2 separate regions of the Homo sapiens genome follow, and region 1 is linked to region 2. The links are contacts of gene promoters, found by promoter capture Hi-C in blood cells and fetal thymus (Javierre and others, 2016). All regions are on one chromosome and are shown on one strand. The core of a region is centred on a gene start or on the middle of the fragment in contact, and the rest is flanking DNA. Distances in the headings are between cores, read along the strand shown.

Region 1 (5,853 bases), core at 2,410-4,909, 950 kb after region 2:
ATGCACATTATTGGAGTAGGAAGAGAGCAGTCTCACAACTAGTCCGGAGCTGGTATTCACTAACCTGGGGCAGGATTAAAACCTTATATCCTTAACTTTCTCTGCTTTCTTGCAATTTCAGTAGTGATAGCAGAACTATAATATGTGAAAAGGGCAGCAACATAGGTTATTTAAAGAGTAGTGATTTTCACTTAGAATTAGGTAGTATTGTTTGAAATTGGAACAAATTATTTTGAGTCAATGAAAAATTCTAGAATTTGCCAGTGCTAGGGAATGGAAAGTGTTCTTGAAATTAAGGTAAAAATAAAGTCATTTCTTGGAGCTTTACCTCATATGGGCAAGTATTCTAAGATTTTTCTCATTAGTTTGTTGTAAAGTTATATTCCATATCTTAACACTTAGAGGTCCTTTTGTGCAGTATCTTCCATATAATAGCTACTTTAAAAAGCTGAATACTTTCCTTGTTGTAATTGCCAAGTGAACTTTTAATGGTGTGTGTTCTTAACTTTAAATGATTCTAAGAATTATATATATATGTGTGTATATATATATATTGTTTTGTTTTGTTTTGTTTTTTCCTGAGATGGAGTCTCACTCTGTTGCCCAGCCTGGAGTGCAGTGGCACAATCTTGGCTCACTGTAGCCTCCGGGCTCAAGCGATTCTCCTGCCTCAGCCTCCCAAGTAGCCAGGATTATGGGTGCCCACCACCAAGCCTGGCCAATTTTTGGATTTTTAGTAGAGACTGGGTTTCACCATGTTGGCCCGGCTGGTTTCAAACTCCTGACCTCAGGTGATCCACCCAACTTGGCCTCCCAAAGTACTGAGATTACAGGCGTGAGCCACCGCACCCAGCCTAAGAATTATAAATTTATGGGGAGAATTAATTCCTACAATCCAGTGTGAAATTTTACTTTAATTTACCAAGTGCTTTTTAAAAAATGGCAAATGTATTTTCTGTAGATTTTTTGATAGAAACTCTTAAGAATTATTTGAAGTACATGGCAAAATAAGTTGCCTCTTACACAGAATTATATGTTAATGTACAATATATAGGGTTCTGTTTGTAATAAATTTGCCTCATAAAATGCATCTCAGTTTTTTTTTGAGCAAATACTAGAAAATCAAAGCTCAGTTTTTTTTTTATCTCAAATTCCAAATTATACACACACCTAGAAACTCCTGTTAGATGCTAACATTTCTCTATAGTCAAGATACCTTAAACTTTAAGCATTAAAAGGCTATAATCTAGCAACTCAACTTCTTCCCCTTTCCTGTGTGGATTAAAATAATTTCTTTTGGGGTTTATGTCTTTTAAACATCAAATTGTCCAGTTCTACACAGCCATTTAAGTCAGTTCTTTTAACTAAAATACTCTGATTATATTGTGTTTTTCTGGGAGTGAGAATTTTTGTTCAGTTTTTTTTTTTTTTCTGTTTTTAAGAGATGGGGTCACTATGTTACAGCCCAGGTTAGTCTCAAACTCCTGGGCTCAAGTGATCCTCTCACCTTGGCCTCTTGTTCAATCCTTGATTGTTGTTTTGAGACATTTGAAAAATGAAAATAGCTATCAGCCTGGCCCTCCAGATTTGAAAATTAGTTTTGGGAGCACAGCAATTTCTCAGGGATTCAAATTACAAATGTTAACAACAGCAGTCTTCCTGATGTGTGAAAATTTACGCATTCAGAAACTGGGAAATTATATAATTTAAAATTTTCAGTTTATTAAGAATAAACTACGTTTCTAAACATAAAATCCCTATACTACCTTTCAGAAAACATTTGTTTTAAGTGGCAGGGTACACCTATTTTTGAATTCCCTAGTATGGAATTTTTTTCCAAACCACAAATCTATCTTAAAACTGCTCAAAGGTGGTAAAGATTAATCAGAGTAATTTATTCATTCAGAAATTGGCTGTTAAATATTTATACCAAAGGAAAATTAGGTTCCTAAAAATGTATTATTGAAGATAATGTGTTAAAATTTATTAGCACAAAAATTCATAAATAGCTAATGTTAATTTTTGTTTTTATTTTGTGTTTTAGAAGTCGAACTGAACCAGCGATGGCAACTACAAAAGCAGTATGTAAAAACACAATCTCACACTTTTTCTACACATTGCTTTTACCTTTATAATGTAGCAGTGAAGTAAATCATTTTAGAACTTAATATCCAACTGATCATAGTACATATTGTAAATAAAATGTATTTTGATGACAGCTCAGTTGAATATGGATAATATGTGGCATCACTTGCACACTTATTTTGTAGAAATGGGTAATTTGTGCCCGTAACACTGTTTCATATTAAATATGATAGCATTATCCCTGTATGACACTGTGTTGTACAGTTAATGTATGATCCTTTTTAGATCGTTTAGGTTTTACACTAAGGAACATGATGACATGTTCTACATTTGTCTGTCTATAGTTAGTATTTTGTATGTATGTACAGGCTGTTGTGTGCTTTTTGTTTCTTGCAATAAAAAATGTTTGGAGTGTATATTTTGCCATTTTCACGTTGTATCACTTAGTTTTTGTTAGTTTTTTTTTTCCTGCCTGATTTATGGCTTCCAAAAACGCATTAGCAACATGCAAAGCTTATATTAAAGTTTGATGCTTTCTCCAAGTTCAAACACATCATAGAAAAGAGCTTTCCAGAGACCATTGATGCAGCTTTATTATTTAGTCTTGCTTTATTTGGCATTTTGAGCTCCTTCTTTTGTTTACATCTGTACTATAAAGTGAAACCTGAACCTGGGGCCCCCTATGAATATATAAGTGTCTTAGTGATTTTGAGTTTATATAAACTGATTATATTGTTTTCAAAGTTTAATGAGATCTTCCACTTCTATCTAGTTAGTGCAGATGTCCAAATTAAAATATTTCCCTCTTATACTAAAATGCTGCGTTAATTTTAGGCCATTGAAAGCTGTACCTTATCAGAGGTAACTCCCCTTAACCAGGATAACTGGTTTGAAGAAAGTTAAGCTTAATTTTTGTAATCACAGATTAACTTAATTTGTGATACCATTTTAACTTTGAGCTCTTAAGTAAAAAGTAGCAGCATTCCTAAGTTGTGGGGTGAAGCATCTGTTTCATAACACAGGTCTATCATAATTGGGTTCTGTAAATGTAATGGTTCTCTAAACATTTTAATGCCCAGGCTTGATATTGTACACAATGCAAGATGTCTAAAATCTTCATTTAGAATTCAAGGGTATTGCTTGCTATTTCACATTATATACTTTTTAAATACTATTGCTCTTTGTATATGAGGCATTTCACTAACCTTGGATCATTGGATCTTAAACATGATAATATAGAATATCTGAACATTGGACTTGTTCTTTAGAGTATATGGCCTTTAGTTCTTGTGGAACTAAATACAGTGATTCTAAGATCAAAAGTCTTAGTGTTTGGGGTTTTTTTTTCCTCTTTTTGGATATGGGGTGTTTTTTTTTGTTTTTTTGTTTTTTTTTTTTAAGCATAATGCTGTAAAAACTGTCCAAGCTTATGTTTTGCTGGTGATTGGTTTAAAACTGATTTTTATGTATCCAAATGCTAGCATAAATTAGATTGACTATCCTGGTGACTGTAGTAGTTAATGTAACACATTTTGTATAAAGTACAGTTTATATAGTATTTAAACTAATTCAGATGAAGTTTTATTTCTTGAAAACAGTTATTTCCTTTTTGTTTATTAGCATGTGTATAAACACAAATCACATGTTCATAAATAAAGTTAACATTCTTTTAGCCTTGTGTGTTCCGGCATGTCTGTATTACATTTATAAGAAGCAGTTTATTTAAGCTTATTTAGGTTTCTCTTTTCTTTTCTTTTTTTTTTAATACTTTAAAATTGGCTTTAATTTTTAGGTAGAATTATCTGAAATAGAGATATTAGATAACCTTGTTGTCCCCATCATTTATTTGCTTGGGGTACATTTGCTGGCATTTAAGATGAGAATATATTCATCAAGCATAATTAGTGCCCATCTTAGGAGATTTAGAGTCACGTGGATTGTACACATTCACAAAAGCAAAGTAAATAGAGGCGCTAAGCCAAATTTTTCTTATCCTGATTAGTAAAGTAAATGTATAGTTTTGGTAATGGAAGCGAACTCTAATCAAGAATGGATGGCTGTTTCCATATTCCCCAGTCTTGTTTTTAGTCATCCATCCATGTTGATACCCCAAAGCTGGATGTTCTTCTTGCTAACTAAATATCAGAGTGGTATTTTATAGGATTCTTTAACTTCAAAAAGCTAATATAATTGGCATAAAAGATTTTAGATCCTTGCTTCCCAAAACAAGACCCCTAATTAGGTACAGGGAGGTGGGTTAATTTTAATGTCTACGGTCTGCATCAGTCCGTTTTGTGAGGACTTTAAGTGGCAGACTTTTTTTTACCATTAGTATCTTACCAAGAGTCACTATTTTTATTGATGTTTAGTAATACAAATTCCTAATCATTTTTAAACCATTCTTTGTCAACATTTTTTGCTCATTTCTGAACACCTTGCTATATGTAGGAAACATTTGTTTGCTTTTCTAAATTTGAGGTAAATTTGACTTCTTTGTGGACTATAAGATATTTAGGGGCAATAGTGATTACTTGGTGGTAAAAAGGTGATTTAGGTGCAGTTGCATATCTAAAACCACTTCAAAGTCAATAAATACATAATACTAATAAGTTAGCAGAAAGCTTAAAAGCACACAAAAGCCCAGCATAAAAACAAAAAGGATACTATATCTTAAGTGTTAGGAGTGGGAAGATTTTTTTTTTATTCTTAAGTTTTTTAGTTCCAGTGGTAAGAAAGTTAATATAATTGTTTTCTTTCCAAGGAAATCATCAGTATTTATATTCTATTCTAGATAGTAATGGGCTATTTTTAAAGACTATTTGTTTTATTGGTTAGAATGTAGTATAGATGATGGTTGACAGCAATTTGTCTAGTCCTTGTTACTTAAAATCAAGTAACTTCTGGTTGGTATAAAATCTTTAAAATAGATTGAGTAGGTCAGAACTTATTTTAGATAAAAAGAGATATGTATTATTTAGAGGTTTTTTTCTACTTACCACTTGAGATTAGTTCTTAAAGGAAAAAAATACTTAAAAGCTGGACAAAAATGATAACCCATTGGCAAATTATGTAGATATGCATTAAGTTATAGGGTTAGTGCATCATGAACTCTTTTATAGTCAGTTCCTTAATGTGGAGCAAAGAACCTTTTGTCTGAATAAACATCCCAGTAATATCCATCAAATTAACTTTTAAAACCCTAAGATATTTGTGAGATGTGTCTTATATTTAGCCAACATTATTTTTTATTTACATTTATTGAATCCCTACTGTGTGGGCATTGGCTAAGAACTTCATATTGAGACTGGTTACATTTGTCTTTGGGGCTCTTAAGTCATGTTGCTTTTATTTTAAAACTTTTGGTTCTCTGGAACAGAATACCTGATGAAGACTTTTTTCTTTGATCCAGACATCTTGTTACATTCTCCATTTTAAATGAAGAGTTCTGACCTTACGACATGTTAACTAAGCAACCCACTTACTACGTAGGAAGCTGTAGGGAAATCATATCTTCAAGATTGTTTGCTAAAGATTTTTTTAAAAACTGATATTAAAATCATTTCAGAGGATCAAATGAAAAAAATTAGTGTTCAATTTAAAATACATTTTTATTTTTATTTTATTTTGAAAGAGAAATGTTTTATTCCTCTTTGCACAGAACAGTTTATGAAGGTGGCTCTCTCCTGACTCCATACATCTTTTACACAAAGATGCCTCTTCAAATATGCCCAGTTATCTCCCCCTCTTCAGTGTTAGAGAATTGGCAGT
Region 2 (5,536 bases), core at 2,268-4,767:
ACTAGTTGCTCTGAAGTTGGCATAGTGGATGGATTTGAGGAGAGGAAATTTCACAGCAGGGAATAGGTAGCATGAGCAATGGTCCAAATGAGATGAACAAGGACTGGAGGCGGAGGTCTGGGATATACAGCAATAACAGAAACCAGGAGTGAAGAGTCCAGGGAGCATGTGTGGTAAGAGAACTCGGGAGCCCACCAACATTTAAGGGTTAGGCACACCAGGTGTGATGGCTCATGCCTGTAATCCCAGCACTTGGGAGGCTGAGGCAGGAGGATTGCTTGAGCCCAAGAGTTCACAACTAGCCTAGGCAACATAAGGAGATTCCGTCTCTAAAAAGAAGACAGACATCAAAAAATTAGGGGTGGTGGCTCATGCCTGTAGTCCCAGCTACTCAGGAAGCTGAGGCAGGAGGACCATTTGAGTCCAGGAGGTCAAGGCTGCAGTGAGCCACGATCATGCCACTGCACTCCAGCCTGAAAGGCAAAGTGTCCCAACAAGGTAGGAGGACAAACCAACCAAGGGAGAACAGTGTCACAACAGCCTAGGGAAGAAGACAGCAGCAGAGAAGGAGCCAGCAAGTTGGACATAAGGGCTGCAAAGCGTTCAATGAAGATGTAAGCTAATGTCTTCCTTTTGTATCCATCTCTGTATCTCTCAACAGCTAGCATGAGTCCTGGCACACAGCTGGCCCTCAATATCTTTGAATGAACTTAGTCAAAACCACTTTGTAAATATAAATAAAATGGTTCCTCTGCTATATATGCAAGCCAAGCCGCCATAGTGGAACATTTCTGAGCTCCTTGCCATTCAAAGCATGGTCCAAGGAACACCCGCAGCAGGATCTTCTGGAAGCCCACTGGAGGTGGAAACTCTCTGGCCCCTTCCCAGAACTGAATCAGAATCTGTATTCCAGCCTAAGTGATCTGTATGTCCAATCAACTGAGAATCAATGCTGTAAGAACAAAGACAGTCACTTCACATTTTAGCCCAATGTTGAAATCAATCTTAGGAACCAGACACTCATCAATTCTAACTACTGCCTTTTTAACCCTTATTTATTTATTTATTTATTTATTTATTTATTTATTTATTTATTTATTGAGATGGAGTCTGGCTCTGTCGCCCAGGCTGGAGTGCAGTGGCACGATCTCGGCTCACTGAAAGCTCTGCCTCCCGGGTTCATGCCATTCTCCTGCCTCAGCCTCCCGAGTAGCTGGGACTACAGGCGCCCGCCACCACGCCCGGCTAATTATTTTGTATTTTTAGTAGAGACGGGGTTTCACCGTGTTAGCCAGGATGGTCTCCATCTCCTGACCTCGTGATCCGCCCGTCTCGGCCTCCCAAACTGCTGGGATTACAGGCGTGAGCCATCGCGCCTGGCCTTTAACCCTTAATTTCAAGGTGACACTTTTCACCTTTTGATACAGCCAACAGGGCAGTGCCCAATGAATGAATCCATTACACTGTCAGTGAACAGCAACACTGGCTTCACAAAAGAAACACTTGATGACTTCTAAAAATAGTCGCCTAGTACTCACTTCTAGATTCTGTCGATCTGGCACGGGCTGGCTGGCTTATTTAAGACGGTCTGCCTCCCAGACTGGAGTGCAGTGGCATCATCTCAGCTCCCTAAAACCTCTGCCTCCTGGGTTCAATCGATCCTCCCACCTCAGCCTCCTGAGTAGCTGGGACTACAGGCGCGTGCCACCACGCCCGGATAATTTTTTGTATGTTTAGTAGAGACGGGGTTTCACTGTGTTAGCCAGAATGGTCTCGATCGCCTGACCTCGTGATCCGCCCGCCTCGGCATCCCAAAGTGCTGGGATTACAGGCATAAGCCACCGCGCCCGGCCTAATTTCTGTATTTTTTGTAGAGACGGGGTTCCACCATGTTGCCTAGGAGGGTCTCAAACTCCTGGGCTCAAGCGATTCGCCCGCCTCGGCCTCCCAAAGTGCTGGGATTACAGGCGTGAGCCACCACGCCTGGCCAGACACACTTATTTTTCACACTAACATGCAGTCAAGGTTGAAACCACTATTACCTGAAGTCTATGACTTTGAAAAGGGGTTTCATAACTTGACCTTGGGAGTCTATCCTACCTTAAGACGGTTATTTTTATTCCCAACTGCACTTCAGAGTCATCTGGAGAACTTAGAAAACAACAAAAAAAAGGCAGGGCGCGGTGGTTCACGCCTGTAATCCCAGCACTTTGGGAGGCCGAGGCGGGTGGATTGCGAGGTCGGGAGTTCAAGACCAACCTGGCCAATATGATGAAACCCCGTCTCCACTAAAAATACAAAACTTAGCCGGGCATGGTGGCGGGCGCCTGTAGTCCCAAATACTCGGGGGGGCTGAGGGAGGAGAATTGCTTGAACCTGAGAGGCGGAGGTTGCCGTTAGCCGGAGGTTGCAGTGAGCTGAGATCACGCCACTGCATTACAGCCTGGGTGACAGAGCGAGACTCTGTCTCAAAAACAACAACAACAACACCGAAATCACTGCCTCCCGGCGTTTCAGCCTCACGCAGATTTCATCAGCTCAAGCTATATACTACAGGTACAGTCGTTCCTTGGTATTTGCGCAGATTGGTTCCAGGACCCCCGACTATACCCAAATCCCCGCACACTCACGTCCCGCAGTCAGCCTTGCAGAATCCGCTTATAGGAAGAGCCTGCCCTCCTTATACGCGGGGCGGCACATCCCGTAAATACTGGTCGCGTTTGGTTGAAAAAAAATCCGCATATAAGTGGACCCGCGCAATTCAAATCCTTATTGGTCAAAGGTCACTTGGCTTGTTTCCTAGAATTACTTCCAGGAGTCCTGGACACAGGCAGAAGGTGCTGCAGGGAAGAGTAAGGACAGAACTGCAGAGAGAAAACCGCTCTGGAGAAGGCTGTAGGCCAGTGTGGCTGCCTCTTTGCATGCTGCTTTCACTACAATACGGTGACCGCTATTTTGAGACCGTACGAGGTGCTCTAGCCGCATTAACTCATCTAATCCTCATTGCTACTCCGCAAGGTAGAGACCAGGATCCCAATTTTGCAGGTGAGTGTGAGCCAGGCTAGGAGACTTGTCCAAAGTTTCGGTAAGCGGCAGCCCAGCAGTGCTGGACTCGAGTCAGTGCTCTTGCTCGTTATTACGAGGTCACCCGGCCTCCCGTCAGGGGTCAACTAAACACCTTTAGGCAGCGGGGCTGCGGAGCGAGCCGGCTGCCCCCCGGGTCACCCCTGCCTGCAGCTGGCGCGCCCCGGATGCCCGGCCCCCACCCCCACCGGGCCCAATCCCTGACCCTTGCCAAGCGGCAGCAAAGTCACCACGAGTCACCTGCGCGAGCACTAAGGCCGGCTGCAAAGTCCCGAGCCTCGTCTGGGTCCCCGCGGAGCAGAGAGCGGTGCTGAGAGGCCGGGCCACGGCCAGCATCCGGACCCGGGGCAGCGGCGCAAAGGCCGCGGGCAGGCGGCTGACATAGGCTGAAAGGACACGAGACGCCATGGCTACGCCAACCCAGGATGCACTGCGCCGCCGCCTCCGGACCAGGGTTCCTTTCCGGCGGCGCGCAGGCGACGCACACGGCAGCGCTGTCGGGCACCGCCGGCGGTGGCGGCCCCTGGCGGCTCCTGGAGGCACTGCGCCCTCGGAGCCCATCCAGGTTCGGGGACGAACAACTGCTTGGTGTCACAACTAAACTGTGCAGACGTCGCCGTCTTTCCCTAAACGACACGGCACGAGAAACCTACTTTCATTTTTTATCTGAAAGTTCTGAAATACATCTGTTTAAACGTTTGGGGCCGGGTGCGGTGGCTGACGCCTTTAATCCTAGCACTTTGGGAGGCCAAGGTGGCAGGACTGTTTGAGCTCAGGAGTTCAAGACCAACCTGGCCAACACGGCAAGACTCCGTCTCTATTACAAAAAAGATTAAAAGAAAAAAAGGACAAAGTTTTGATTCCACAATTCTTCCACAAGTATTAACATTTATTGAATAGGTAAAAAAATATATATAATAATGTGAAAAAATAATCAATTTCAATACCTAAGACTAATAAATGTGAGAATTACGATTAAAACAATATACATGTTTTAAAACTTGACAGTGTATAATATAGCTGTCAGGTCCACGACTATGCCAACTGTCATGCCCACAGCCAGGTTCCAGCCCATATCGAGGTCTGAGGGGAGTGGGTGGATGAACAGATAGCTGAAAGAACACTCAGGGGACGGTAGGCAGGTGAAAGATGATTTTATTCAGCAGCAGCTCTCATCAGCAGCTTACTTACACTAGTTCTCTCACACTGTCTGCCTTGTCTCAGCTGCTTAGTCCCATGGCTCCCCCACACAACTGCGAGGCTGGCTCTCCCTTGCCTTCAGGGTCAGCAGCTTAACTCTCTCTCAGCTGTGATCTGGCTCCCCCTGTCTGTCTGCAAAGACTGACAGCTCTGGCTCTCTCTTTCTCTGGGCACGAACGCCTGTACAGTATCAGCAGGGCAATTATACCTTTTACAGAAAATAGTGGCTTAGAGCCAAGTGATGACCTTCCCATGTTATGCCTACATGGCTGTGATAACAAGTGGAGTTATACGCCTCTGTCTAAACTTGCTGAGTCACGCAGGATGTAAACATCTTACCTTGGCCTATCCTTGACCAAAGCACAGCCATGTTCCTTACAATAGCTAACAAAAATAGGTAAGCGAGGGAGGAGTTTAAGAAGGCTAATTCCTATTTCTAAGCAGGGAGCTAAAGGATATTGACTGAAATGGAAACACACGGGATAATGACTCCAAATTCTGAAATCTGCCTGAATGAATGATCCAATAATGTCACCAGTTTTACCTCAATTTCTTTTTATTTTTGTTAAATCCAAGTAAAATAAAATGTAATGGTATGCTGCCAGGCGCGGTGGCTCATACCTGTAATCCCAGCACTTTGGGAGGCCAAGGTGGGTGGATCACGAGGTCAAGAGATCGAGACAATCCTGGTCAACATGGTGAAACCCCATTTCTACTAAAAATACAAAAATTAGTTGGGTGTGGTGGTGCGCGCCTGTAGTCCCAGATACTCAGGAGGCTGAGGCAGGAGAATCGCTTGAACTTGGGAGGCAGAGGTTGCAGTGAGCCGAGATTGCGCCACTGCACTCCAGGCTGGCAAAAGAGCAAGACTCCATCTCAAAAAAAAAAAACGAAAACAAAAAAAACATAGTTTCATCCCACTGTTGTAAAATAATTTCTATTTATTATAGCATTCCTTTAAAACTCGAGTGTCTGGGGGCCAGGCATGGTGGGTCAAACCTGTAATCCCAGCATTTTGGGAGGCTGAGGCAGGTGGATCACCTGATGTCAGGAGTTTGAGACCAACCTGGACAACATGGTGAAACCCCGTCTCTACTAAAAATACAAAAATTAGCTGGGTGTGGTGGCAGGTGACTGTAATCCCAGCTACTCAGGAGGCAGGAAGCTGAGACAGGAGAATTGCTTGAACCCGGGAGGTAGAGGTTGCAGGGAGCTGAGATCGCGCCATTGCACTCTAGCCTGGGCAACAAGA

The links. Contacts are between HindIII fragments. The CHiCAGO score rates a contact against its expected background, and 5 or more counts as called.
Region 1: a fragment that was not itself captured here is called in contact with the fragment with the promoter of NDUFAB1 in region 2 in 1 of 17 cell types (M1 macrophages); the score reaches 5.5 in M1 macrophages.

Annotation. Positions count from the first base shown.
Region 1 is chr16:24,546,901-24,552,753 of GRCh38, forward strand. It overlaps RBBP6 (RB binding protein 6, ubiquitin ligase), which reads left to right. Exons shown (of 18, transcript NM_006910.5): 3 at 2,045-2,081. Among named protein-coding and RNA genes, the nearest start is that of RBBP6, 10 kb to the left of the region's middle. The HindIII fragment of the contact is 301 bases long and covers 3,510-3,810 here.
Region 2 is chr16:23,592,799-23,598,334 of GRCh38, forward strand. NDUFAB1 (NADH:ubiquinone oxidoreductase subunit AB1) reads right to left here and starts at 3,518. Exons shown (of 5, transcript NM_005003.3): 1 at 3,325-3,518. The coding sequence starts at 3,492. RefSeq lists silencers at 1,254-1,430, 3,176-3,265. The HindIII fragment of the contact is 11,223 bases long and covers 1-5,536 here.